2 separate regions of the Homo sapiens genome follow, and region 1 is linked to region 2. The links are contacts of gene promoters, found by promoter capture Hi-C in blood cells and fetal thymus (Javierre and others, 2016). All regions are on one chromosome and are shown on one strand. Each heading gives the region's core, a stretch centred on a gene start or on the middle of the fragment in contact. The rest is flanking DNA. Distances are from core to core; before and after follow the strand shown.

Evidence for each region. Contacts are between HindIII fragments. The CHiCAGO score rates a contact against its expected background, and 5 or more counts as called.
Region 1: a fragment that was not itself captured here is called in contact with the fragment with the promoter of TFIP11 in region 2 in 1 of 17 cell types (neutrophils); the score reaches 5.2 in neutrophils.

The regions. Positions count from the first base shown.
Region 1 is chr22:26,682,547-26,688,483 of GRCh38, reverse strand. All of the region lies in intron 1 of MIATNB (MIAT neighbor), which reads right to left. Among named protein-coding and RNA genes, the nearest start is that of MIATNB, 13 kb to the right of the region's middle. The HindIII fragment of the contact is 5,065 bases long and covers 1-4,336 here.
Region 2 is chr22:26,509,439-26,515,614 of GRCh38, reverse strand. TFIP11 (tuftelin interacting protein 11) reads left to right here and starts at 3,142. Exons shown (of 15, transcript NM_012143.4): 1 at 3,142-3,221; 2 at 3,440-3,516; 3 at 4,913-4,998; 4 at 5,334-5,551. The coding sequence starts at 5,343. TFIP11-DT (TFIP11 divergent transcript) reads right to left here and starts at 3,083. Exons shown (of 2, transcript NR_144529.1): 1 at 2,581-3,083; 2 at 1,047-2,203. RefSeq lists enhancers at 2,320-2,857, 3,080-3,259. The HindIII fragment of the contact is 18,663 bases long and covers 1-6,176 here.

The DNA.
Region 1 (5,937 bases), core at 555-3,054, 170 kb before region 2:
TATCTACAGCAAAGCAGCACACCTCTTTTTTTTTTTTTCTTGAGACGGAGTCTCGCTCTGTCGCCCAGGCTGGAGTGCAGTGGCGCGATCTCGGCTCACTGCAAGCTCCGCCTCCCGGGTTCACGCCATTTTCCTGCCTTCGCGCCATTCTCCTGCCTCAGCCTCCTGTGTAGCTGGGATTACAGGCGCCCACCACCACACCCGGCTAATTTTTTGTAGAGACGGGTATTCACCATGTTAGCCAGGATGGTCTGGATCTCCTGACCTTGTGATCCGCTCACCTCGGCCTTCCAAAGTGCTGGGATTACAGGCGTGAGCCACCACGCCCGGCCACACCTCTTTTTAAGAGACAACATGGGGTGCTCAGCAATCATGGAATTTGCCAAAATAATTAAATACAACCCCCAATTCTTCTCTGGACAAGTTATCCAACATATCTGAGCCTCGGTTTCCTCATCTGTAAACTAATAAAATAAAATCTACCTCCCAGCCTGGTAAACATTAAATACATGACATTGCAAAGCACCTAACACACAGTAGGCCTTCAATAAATGTGAGTTATTTTTTCTTCCTTGTTTCTTTCTTCCCCCAAAAGGCTTTGCATCTGAGAGTCAGCAGAAAGAGGATAGTTTTTCATTGGCCTGCAGTGTGACATTGGACATCTCTTGGGCTCTAAATTCACTGGGATACTTTTGGTTGAAAGTAACAGACTCATTCAAATTAGCCCAAGCAAGGGAGGTAGGGGGAAGAATAATTATTACAAAGATGCAGAGATAACTCAGAGAACCAAGGAGCTGGAATGCAGTCAGGTTTCAGGAGTGGCCTGGAAACAGGAACTGAGATGTACCAGGAAATCTAAGATGTACTACTTTCTGTATCCCTCATCCTTTCTCCTCTCTCAGCACCACTTTCATTCATAACTAGTTCCCTGTTTACAGTACAAACAATGGCCATCAACTCCCCTAAATACTCAAGTTGGCCAGTAGGACCCCTTCCCTTAAACCTAATTCCATACTAAGGAAGATCTACATTGGCCCAGCTTGGATTGGGCTCTACTCCTAGTCCAATCAACAACATCTGGGGTAGAGCCAAGAGGCTTTCATTGGCTTGGCTTAAGATGGGCTCTACCCCTTGTCCAATCAACAGTGTCCACAGGTGGGGTCGTGAGGCTTTCATTGGCCCAGTTTGGGTTGGGCCCTTCTCCTAATCCAATCAACCACATCCAGAGGTGGTGCCATAAGGTTTTCATTGGTTTGGCTTAAGATTGGCTCTACCCCTTGTCCAATCAACAGTGTCCACAAGTGGTGCCTTGATGCTTTCATTGTCCCAGCTTGGGTCGGGACCTACCCCTGGTCCAATCAAGAGCATCCAAGAATGGAGCCATTGGCTTAAGATGGGCTCTACCCCAGTTCAATAAGCAGCAGCCAGGAATGGGGCCATGTTACACAAATATGGTGGCTTCTACTGTAGCTGTGCGGATGGAGAAAGTAAAGGACAGTCTTCAGAAAAGGGCAGCTGGGTGTGCCAAACAATAAGTGACTTGCTGAAAGCAATGAGAAATAATACCTGCCCTCAAGGAACTCATAGTTCCAAGGGAGTTTCAGACCCAGAGACAGATAAACACCATTCCTACTCAGAAAAGGCCGTTACATTGGTATGACCCAGAGACATCCACATAACCAGGGTTTGACGGGAGAAGTTCCCAGAAGCTGCACCAACTGCCTCCCCAAAGCCATCCTAGCACCTGATGAGCTAATTAATCACAATTATTATTGATGGCAGTGCCAATCCACCTGCTCGTGTCACAAGACATTAGTTATTGCCAGGAATGATGAATCCCAGGATGTAGAACATGCTAAAAATATTAATCTACCAGTGAAAATGATTTTAATTGGATTTCGCCCTTGGGGTCATGTCAGAGGCCCGCTTTCAATCAGACTTCTCCAGTCAGCAAAGCAGACCCCAGCCTTTCAAATTGAAACTGTGATTGGCTGGCAGAGGTTAATAGAAATGTTGGGAAATAAATAGGTTATTGATTGATCATAACAATCAGCCGGCTCCCAGCTTACCTTGTTGACCTCGCCCACCCAATTTTACGGCAAACGCGGTTAGCATCTAATTATAGATCACCTTTACAATACTGTGTATTAATGAGAAGATTATACAGTGGGGCATAGGGGAATTCTTACTGGAGAAGTTTCCCAGTGGCAGAAAAATTTGGTGAGACCTCTTGTCGAACATGGGGACCATCAGCGAGTGTGGGGGATTCTAGGAAGAATAAAATGACTCTCCCCACATCCCTGCCTAAAACCTCATTCATTCAAGCAACATGCATTTATTGAGCGTAAGATTTGCACAGGGGACCGTGGTACGTGGTGCTGTATCCGATGCAGTCCCTCTGCTTAGGAACTCACTCTGTAATGCACTGGTTCTAAAACATCTGCGAGCCCAAGAATCATTTGCCAGATGAAAGACAGATTCAGCCAGACATCGTGGGTCACGCCTGTAATCCCAGCACTTCGGGAGGCCAAGGCAGGAGGATGGCTTGAGAACAGGAGCTTAAAACCAGCCTGGGCAACCTAGCAAGATCCCATCTCTACAAAAAATAAAAATAGCCAGAAATGCTGGCCCGTGCTTATAGTCCCTGCTATTCAGAGGCTGAGGCAGGAAGATCCCTTGTGCCCAGGAGTTCAAGGTTACAATGAGCTATGATTGTGCCACTGCACTCCAGTCTGGATGACAGAGTGAGATCCTGTCTCAAAAAAAAAAAAAAAAAAAAAAACAGAGACGCAGATTCCTGGGCCGACACACTGAGATTCTGATTCAGAGGGGTCTGTATTTTTAACCCATTCCACCTTGAAAACTATGATGTGGTTGGAGGGCCTCATTTCGAGACACATTGGCCTGATCAGGAAGAAAGATCTACACAAAGAAAATTACAAATCAGTGTCTTGGGTGTTTGGATTAAAGTTTATCCAGAGTCCAGCCAGACATAAGGAACGTGAGGTCAGCTGAACCTGGAAGCCTTCATAAAGCAGGTGAGGTTCACACCGAGCAGGAATATCCAAGGTGAACTTGAAGAACAGTTTGCCCTCATAAAAGGATACTTTTAATGGGCACTAATGGTGTGCACAGCAGTGTTATCTGCCCCACCAGGGAGAGAAGGGGTGTCTGCCTCTCTCTTTCAAAGTACTAACAACCTGGTTGCTTTCTCAATTCCAAGTGGCCCCTCACCATGCACAAACCCTTTACTGGTTTGTTTGTTTTTTTTTAAGAGACAGGGTCTCACTCACTCACCCAGGCTGGAATCAGTGGCATGATCATAGCTCACTGCAGCCTCGAACTCCTGGGCTCAAGCGATCTTCCTGCCTCAGCCTCCCGAGTAGCTGGGACCACAGGTGTGCCTCACTATGCCTAGCTAATTTTTTTACTTTTATTTTTTTATTTCGTAGAGACAGGGTCTCACTGTTTTGCCCAGGCTGGTCTTGAACTCCTGTCCTCAAGCGAACCTCCCACCTCAACCTCCCAAATTGCTGAGATTACAGGTGTGAGACATCATTTGTTGAACCAATATGGAGAGGCGGTGAAGGTGGCAGAGATGGGAAAACAGGGTAAAATGACTTGCCATAGGTCATACAGCCCTGGTACATCTAGATAAGAACACAAGTCCAATGTCAACACACTACGGTGTTGCTGCCGCCTTATTTGTGGGGACAGCCCTTCTGAAGAGGATGAAGTTGCTGGGGAGGTAGGGCACAGCTAGGATTGGAGGGCCTGAACAAATGGTTCAATCCCAGCTTTTAACACAGTGCTGGGAAGGCCTCACTCAGGCAGTCAGACTGGGCTTCTGGCAGACTTTCAGGATGCTGAAGTGAGTCTGTGAAGGCAGATCCTCACCTCAGAATTAAGGAGGGAACTGCCTTTTAAAGAATAACAGACAGAAGTGTCTGGAAGTCACAGGCACAGGGTAGCTGGTCCACAGTGGAGACAGAGGAGTCTCAGCCCCACAACACCAGTGTGGATGGTGTCTTTGATAAATGCAGTTTCTCACCTGGACTCCTCCACAGCCTCCGCCCCAGGCTTCCTGCTTCCCCGTCCCCCTCCAATCCATTCTGCACCCAGCAGCTGGAAGCCAGTGTTTACAGCATAAATCAGAGGTGTCACTCTGCAGTACAAAACCCTCCAATGGCTTCCAAATATACTTAGAGTCAAATCAGATTCCTTATTGTGGCTCAGCAGGCCCTGAGTTATCCAACCCTGGCTTGCCCCTTCAACATTACATCCCACCAGCCTCTTATGCTCTGGCCTTACCTCTGTCCCTTCAGCATGGCAAGCTTTATCCCCACCTCAGTACCTTTGCCCCTGCTGTTCCCCCTGCTGACACTTTCTCCTAATGTCGCATGGCTGACTCCATCTTAACAGCTCAAATGCCACCTCCTCTGAGAGGCCCTCTCTGACCACCGCCTGATCTTGCCCATCCTCCACTCCACCCGGGCCATCCTGTCCCACTGTCCTGCCGTACTTCTTTTCATAGCAATAAACAGTGGTAGAAAGGATTTAACTTTCTTGTTTCTATACTGAATGCCTGTCTCCCCCACTGGACTGAGAATTCCATGAGGACAGACATTTAGTTTCTTCTCACCACTCTATTCTAGGTGCCTAGCACAGAGCCTGGCACATGGACAGTGTCAATGCATATCTGATCTACTACTGAATCCAAATCTAAAGTCTAGATGGGGAAAAAAAAATAAACAGGACCTGCTTGCCCAGAGACCAAAGCAGTGAGTGAACTCGCTCAGGCTTAGTCAAGGAGGGTGTTATGCATAGACAAGATGTAGTGACCGGAGGGGTCTTATCCTGGGCTCATGTGGGGAAAAAAGGGAACAGTCCAGGCAAAAACAAATGAAGGGCTCAGAGACACAGCACTGGAGGTGAAGGAAACTGAACACTGATGATTTTTCTTATTCCGTACATCATTCATATATCAAGATTCCCGTTTTCCTTATGAAACTGTGAGGCTGGTGAGAAAGCTGCCACAGCTGTCCAAAACAGAAGGCTGGTGGTTTGGACTGGGGCAATGTCAGGGGGATAGAATAAAGTGAGAAGAGATATTTAGGGCCGAATGTGGTGGCTCATGCCTATAATCCCAGCACTTTGGGAGGCAGAGGCGGGCATATCACTTGAGGTCAGGAGTTCGAGACAAGCCCAGCCAACATGGTGAAACCCTGTCTCTACTAAAAACACAAAAATTAGCCAGGCGTAGTGGCGGGAGGCAGGAGAATCGGTTGAACCCAGGGGGCGGAGATTGCAGTGAGCCGAGATGGTGCCACTGCACTCCAGCCTGGGCGACAGAGTGAAACTCTGTCTCAAAAGAAAAAAAAAAGAAGGCCAGGCGCGGTGGCTCACGCCTGTAATCCCAGCACTTTGGGAGGCTGAGGCAGGCGGATCATGAGGTCAGGAGATCGAGACCATCCTGGCTAACACGGTGAAACCCCGTCTCTTCTAAAAATACAAAAAATTAGCTGGGCGTGGTGCCGGGTACCTGTAGTCCCAGCTACTCGGGAGGCTGAGGCAGGAGAATGGCATGAACCCGGGAGGCAGAGCTTGCAGCGAGCCGAGATAGAGATAGCGCCACTGCAGTCAGGCCTGGGCGAAAGAGCAAGACTCCTTCTTAAAAAAAAAAGAAAAGAAAAAAGAGAGAGATTTAGGCGGTAAGATGACAGGACTTCGACAATGGCTGTGACAGAGATTGAGGAAGGAAAGAAAAATGACTGTCAGGTTTCTTTTTCAAGCAACCGGAGAGACTGGGGCTCTTTCCTGAGATGGAAAATGCTGGAAGGGACTAGGATTTGGGGAAAAAAGATCCTGAGATCAGCTGAGACAGAAACAAAGTTGTTTCTTAAAAGGAACTGTATCCTTGTTTATTGCTGCATAATG
Region 2 (6,176 bases), core at 1,893-4,392:
GCCCAAGGAGCCTTGTTGCTTTGGCAACCCCTTCTGCGAAGGCCACATGTCTGAGCACCTCATTGGGAATGTAGAAATGAGTGTGGATGTTCCCAAATCTCAAAGCAATGTTTTTGTTTTTTTTTTTCCCCTCTAGGAAATGACAGGAGATCACGATAGATATGAGACCTTGAACCTAAAGCTCTGGTTGCCTTGTAAAACTTTTCCTTGTTTTTCAAAGGCTGGGCATTTGATCCCAGAAATCCTGAAAAACCATGGATTTTTGAGACTGAAAGGGGTATGACATTGGGTTTTTAAAAATGAAGGCTGGCGCAGTGGCTCACGCCTGTAATCCCAGCACTTTGGGAGGCCAAGGCAGGTGGATCACGAGGTCAGGAGTTCGAAACCAGCTTGGCCAACATGTTGAAACCCCATCTCTAATAAAAATACAAAAAGTAGCCAGGCGTGGTGGCGCACACCTGTAATCCCAGCTACTCAGGAGGCTGAGACAGGAGAATTGCTTGAACCCAGGAAGCATATGTTGCAGTGAGCTGAGATCGTGCCACTGCACTCCAGCCTGGGTGACACAGTGAGACTCTGTCTGGGGGAAAAAAAAATTAAAACAAATAAAAAAACAAAAATTAGCTGGGCGTGGCGGCGTAACGCCAGCTACTCGAGAGGCTGAGGCATGAGAATCACTACAGCTGCGCCTGTAATGACAGCTACTCGGGAGGCTGAGGCATGAGAATCACTTGAATCTGGGAGGTAGAGGTTGCAAATGAGCGAAGATTGTGCTGCTGCACTCTAGCCTGGGCGACAGAGTGAGACTCTGTCTCAATAAATAAATAAATAAATAAATAAGAATATAGCCACAATCCTTTAGAAAGCTCTTACCATGCCAGGAGCTTTACATGCACTAATTATCACTTTCTGTTTTTGTTTTTCTCTAAACAACTCTCTTAGATCAGTACTGTCACTATCCCCAATCTACAGATGGAAAAATTGAGGTGTAGAGAGGTGAAGCAACCTGCCCTCGGGCCCATACCTAAGAAGTAGCAAAGTCGAGATTTGGATCCTTGAAGTTTTTACTCCAGAGCTTTCATTTTAAGAAATTGCAAAAAAGTTATTAAGTACAGAGAGAAACATTTTCCCTGTAATAATTTGAAATTAAGGTGACCATTTGATGCCTTATCCCCTGCCAAATACATTGATTTACTTTCCAGCAAACAAGAACATCCTCTGATGTAACTTAACAGGCAACCATGAAAATCAGGAAATTAACACGGACACATCATTACCACGGCATTGTAGGCCCCATTTAAACTTTTCCAACTGTCCCTGTAACTTCCTTTCAAGCAAAAAGATCCAGTTCAGAATCATGTGTTGTGTTTAGTTGTCATGCCTCTTTGGTCCCCTCCAGTTTGGAACAGTTCCAGGGTCTATCTTTGATTTTCATGACCTTGGCACTTTCTAAGATTACAGTTTTGTATACAGCATGTCTCTTTACGTGGGTTTGTCTGATATATCCTCATGATTACATCCAGGTTATGGATCTTCAGCAGGAATATCACAGGGGTGATGTTGCAATCTTCTCAGGGCATCCTATCAAGTGCCACATAACTTCACTTTGTCCCATTCCTGACAATGCAGACTCTGATCACTAAATCAGAGCCTGCACTCTTAACTACTCCATGACAGTCCACAAAGGTCCCTTCTTCAGAAGCCACAAAGTGAGTTCCATTTGGTGAAGTAAATCCACTAGCATCAGTCCCTCATGATCAAAGTAATTGCAGCTCCATAAAATCTGCTGTAAAGCCATAAACATAGCTACAGAAAAGCCAAGCGTATGTATGCTTTTGGCTTTTGGGCTACAAACAGATGTAAATACATTCAGGCACAGACTAAAAACACTTTTCTCCTCTGTTTCCCTTACTCTGCTCCTGGCAGGGCTTGTAGTCTGTTAGACCCTCTCTCCCGGCCTTCAATGCTAAAACCACATTTTCCATTTCTTTCCTGAGTACATACTATGTGTCAGGCACAATGATTCTACATGTCACTAAGAATACAGAGATCATTAAGACACAGTCATCATTCCTAAGCAGCCCACATTTAACTGGGTACACAAAAATTGTTGTTTAATTCTTAACAACTACTTGATGGTAGACTTAAGTATTTGACTCCAAGTCCCGTGCTCTTTTTACATTCCAACAATTGCCTCTTGAATCTTTTCATCACATAGAGCAGAGAGAGAAAAATTAAGCAAAAATTAATAGCTAACACTTCTTCAGCACCTACTGTTACCAGGTACGGTTTTCATTGCCTACAGTTTTATCTTATTGAATCCTTAACCATTTTGCAGAAGAGAAAACAGGCTTAGATGTAATGACTTGCCCAAGGTCCACAGCTGCTAAATTGCACTCAAGGTTGGAACTCCAGAGCCTGTGGACACTTAAATGTCTACAAGGAGTCCTTGGGCTAGTGAGGGCTTCCCAGGGAGGGCCCATGACTGTTCTGCTCATTGTATCACATTGGCCTAGCACAGGTGAGGGGCACTTAGTATATTTTAATTAGATCAATGAATAAATTAATGAATTTACCAACCTGCTGGAAACGAAAAGAATGGAAACAGCTCCTGGAGAGAATACTTGGGAACTCCAGAGTTTGCCCATTCATTCCTTCATTCCCTCTTAAACTCCTGCATAAAGGCCACTGCCCTGTGCCCACGACGGTGCTTATACCGAGAGCGTCAAAGATACAGGAATCACAGTCTTGACCTTCATTATTCCCATTTGAATGCTGTGTCCCAGGCCCCTTATTGTCTCACAGTATTTACCACAACTACCGTATGGGCTAATCCTACATCTCTATTTTACAGATTTACAATCTCAGAGTGGTAAAGTCTCCTTAGGCCAAGGTGGCTCAGCGGATTCCACACCAGTCATCACAGGCTGAGCGTCACAGTACAAAGCAGGAGCGGCAGGGAGGCCGATTCCGCGGGGAAACCACTCCCCAGCTATTCTAGGCCTTGCAAATCCACCCCTCCTATCTAAGATCCCAGCCGGCCGCTCTGCAGCCATATCCGCCGTAGCGTCCCACGCTGCCCTGGCAGCCAGCAGGACATCCGCTGTCGACTAACGTCATTTCCGGCGCGCCGGCCACGGTGCTTCCGGGTTCTGGTGTAGGAGCGGCGTCTTCTCGCGCGGATGGTGAAGCTGAATTTGGTACGCTGGACCCTCGGACAGGTGAGCACGGCTGGCCACAAGGGGACTCAGCGCCAGTGAGAGTAGGGACGAAGGCTCAGGGAAGGCGAGCTTCGGTCCAAGCCGTTGGGGTGTGGGGAGGGGAATCCATTTCGTAGACAGCTCTGCCGAGGCACGGAGAGGGGCGGTGCTGCTTGGGGTCAACTGGGATTTAGGGCTTGGATTCATTTAAGAACCTGAGCTTCCTTCACCAAACCTAGACAGCAAGAGAGAGACAAGCCCGAGGCCTGACTTCTAGCACTCCTGAGTTTGAGCCCTATGAGCAGTGGAACCTAGGGTAAGTTACTAACTTCTCTGAACCTCCTTTTTCTTATCTGAAGCATGAAAACTAACGGTACCTACCTTGCAGAAGTGTCTTGATGCAGACAGTTGATAATCGGTCTCAAGCGACCAGCATGTACCTAGCATCTACTGATAAAGGCTTCATAACTTGTGACTACTCGGGGCTTATTACCATTTACTATGCCCACGCAGGCAGTGGTATTATTTAACTTTATGTATTTGAGATTCCCCGTCTTTTCTGAAAATCCTTCTGTCCTAAACACTCCTGGAAGAGGTTGGGACCCGTTGCACCCAACCGGTGCACCAGTGAGTAGAAGAAGGCAGAGATAACGTTTTGCCAGAGGTGACCAGAGTTTGACACTGCCTGTGGAAGTAGTGAACTCCGTGTGCCTTAAGGCCGCTTTCAGCAAGACAAGAATCACAATTGCTGTCACCTATGGAGTGTATTATTGTGTAGTGCACCATGCTTGGCGCTTCACGTGCATATTTAATTCTCATACACTGGGTATCTGATAGAGTTGAATTTGAACTCAGGCTTCGATTTTAGCCTGCCTGATTTTACAGTCACTTTGCTAAGTTTACTCCCTAGTCCCATAATAATAATGATGATTGTGATGGTAAATACTGAGTGTCAACTTGATTGGATTGAAGGATACGAAGTATTGATCCTGGGTGTGACTATGTGGGTGTTGCCAAAGGAGATTAACATTTGAGTCTGTGGGTGGGGAAAGGCAGACCCACCCTCAATTCAATCTGTGTGGGCATAATCTAATCAGCTGCCAGCACGGCAAGAATATAAGCAGGCAGAAAAATGTGAAAAGAGAGACTGGCCTAGCCTCCCAGCCTATATCTTTCTCCTGTGCTGGATGCTTCCTGCCCTCGAACATTGGACTTCAAGTTCTTCAGCTTTGGAACTTGACTGGCTCTCCTTGCTCCTCAGCCTGCAGACAGCCTATTGTGGGACCTTTTGATCGTGTGAGTTAATAGTTAATAAGCTCCCCTTTATATATGTATGTCTATTCCATTAGTTATGTCGCTCTAGAGAACCCTGACTAATACAATGATTAACCTAATCATGGGACTAAAGTAGAAGCTATCGTTTCTTGAGCACTTATTTTGAACTCATTGAATTTGCTTTGTAAGCCTTCTCTAAGGTTGGTATGGTAGTTAATCCCAATTTAAGAAAGACAACTGAATCTGGTCACCCAGCTACTGTGAGGTAGATTCTCTATATCAATCTCTGGACATCTGACTATTAAAATAGTGTTCATAATTACTACAGTCTTTCAGTTCATCAGAAGAAATTCATGTTTTGTGAGGAAAACTGAAAATTTTGTTTCATCAAGTAATGTATTTCAAAAAGCATATTCTAAAAAAAATCACTCTCCTAGGACCACCAAGGATCCAGATATAATTCTTTCCTCAGTAATAGAAAAAAGAATCTGGGATCTAAGAAGATACCTACTCATTTTCTAAGGTAATAATGTACAAAATAACCTACTTAGTTATTTTTGTGTGGTTTGTGTATGTGTGAATATGTGTGATATTTATGATATTGACTAGGACAAGGAGATATGTACTTTTAAAGAATCATAGACTGTTAGGAGTAGTATTTTGTTCACCTGTTTTAGTACTGATTGTTATCTAAAAGTAGGTTTTTAATATCTTTTTTATTGAATAGTAATGCTGACTTTAATGGACTTTGAATTTGGAGAAAGTTCTGAAAGCAGCAAGGAATAGAGACTCACAAGGAATCCTTCGACTGCTGCCCCCAGGACTTACGGCCTGTGCTCTTTTTGTCTCTTCCTTTAGTGACTGGCCATGTCATTGTCCCACTTATACCGGGATGGGGAAGGCCGCATTGATGATGATGATGACGAGCGGGAGAACTTTGAGATCACTGACTGGGATCTCCAGAATGAGTTCAACCCCAACCGACAGCGCCACTGGCAGACCAAGGAAGAAGCCACCTACGGGGTGTGGGCAGAGCGAGACTCGGATGATGAGAGGCCCAGCTTTGGAGGCAAACGGTATTGCCTGGCATGGGGGCTGCTTCACCTTGCTTTAGGGAAGAGGGGGAAGATGGACAGGGAGTGGAGGAGATACCCTGATAAGTATACTTCTCACCTGGCCTTGTTGAGACTGTTAGCTGTGACATCATCTCGAGAGGTCTGGTTTCCTCTTTAGGCTAGAGTGCTGCTCTTTCACTGATTTATTCTATTTATTATTATTTTTTTTGAGACACGGTTTCACTTTGTTGCCCAGGTTGGAGTGCAGTGACGTGCTCTTGGCTAGCTGCAACCTCCACCTTCCAGGTTTAAGTGATTCCCGTGCCTCAGCCTCCCGAGTAGGTGGGATTACAAGCAAACGCCACCACCTCCAGCTAATGTTTGTATTATTAGTAGAGACGGGGTTTTGCCATGTTGGCCAGGCTGGTCTTGAACTCCTGACCTCAAGTGATCCACCCACCTCAGCCTCCCAAAGTGCTGGGATTACAGGCGTGAGCCACCACGCCTGGCCTCACTGATTTAATTATCAGTGTTTATTGAGCGATTGCTATGTATTAGGCCTGTGCTATAGACCCATTCTTGCCTTCCTAGAGCCCAGACATTAGAAGATGGAAATAGGCATTAACAACTCAGACGATCAAACTTG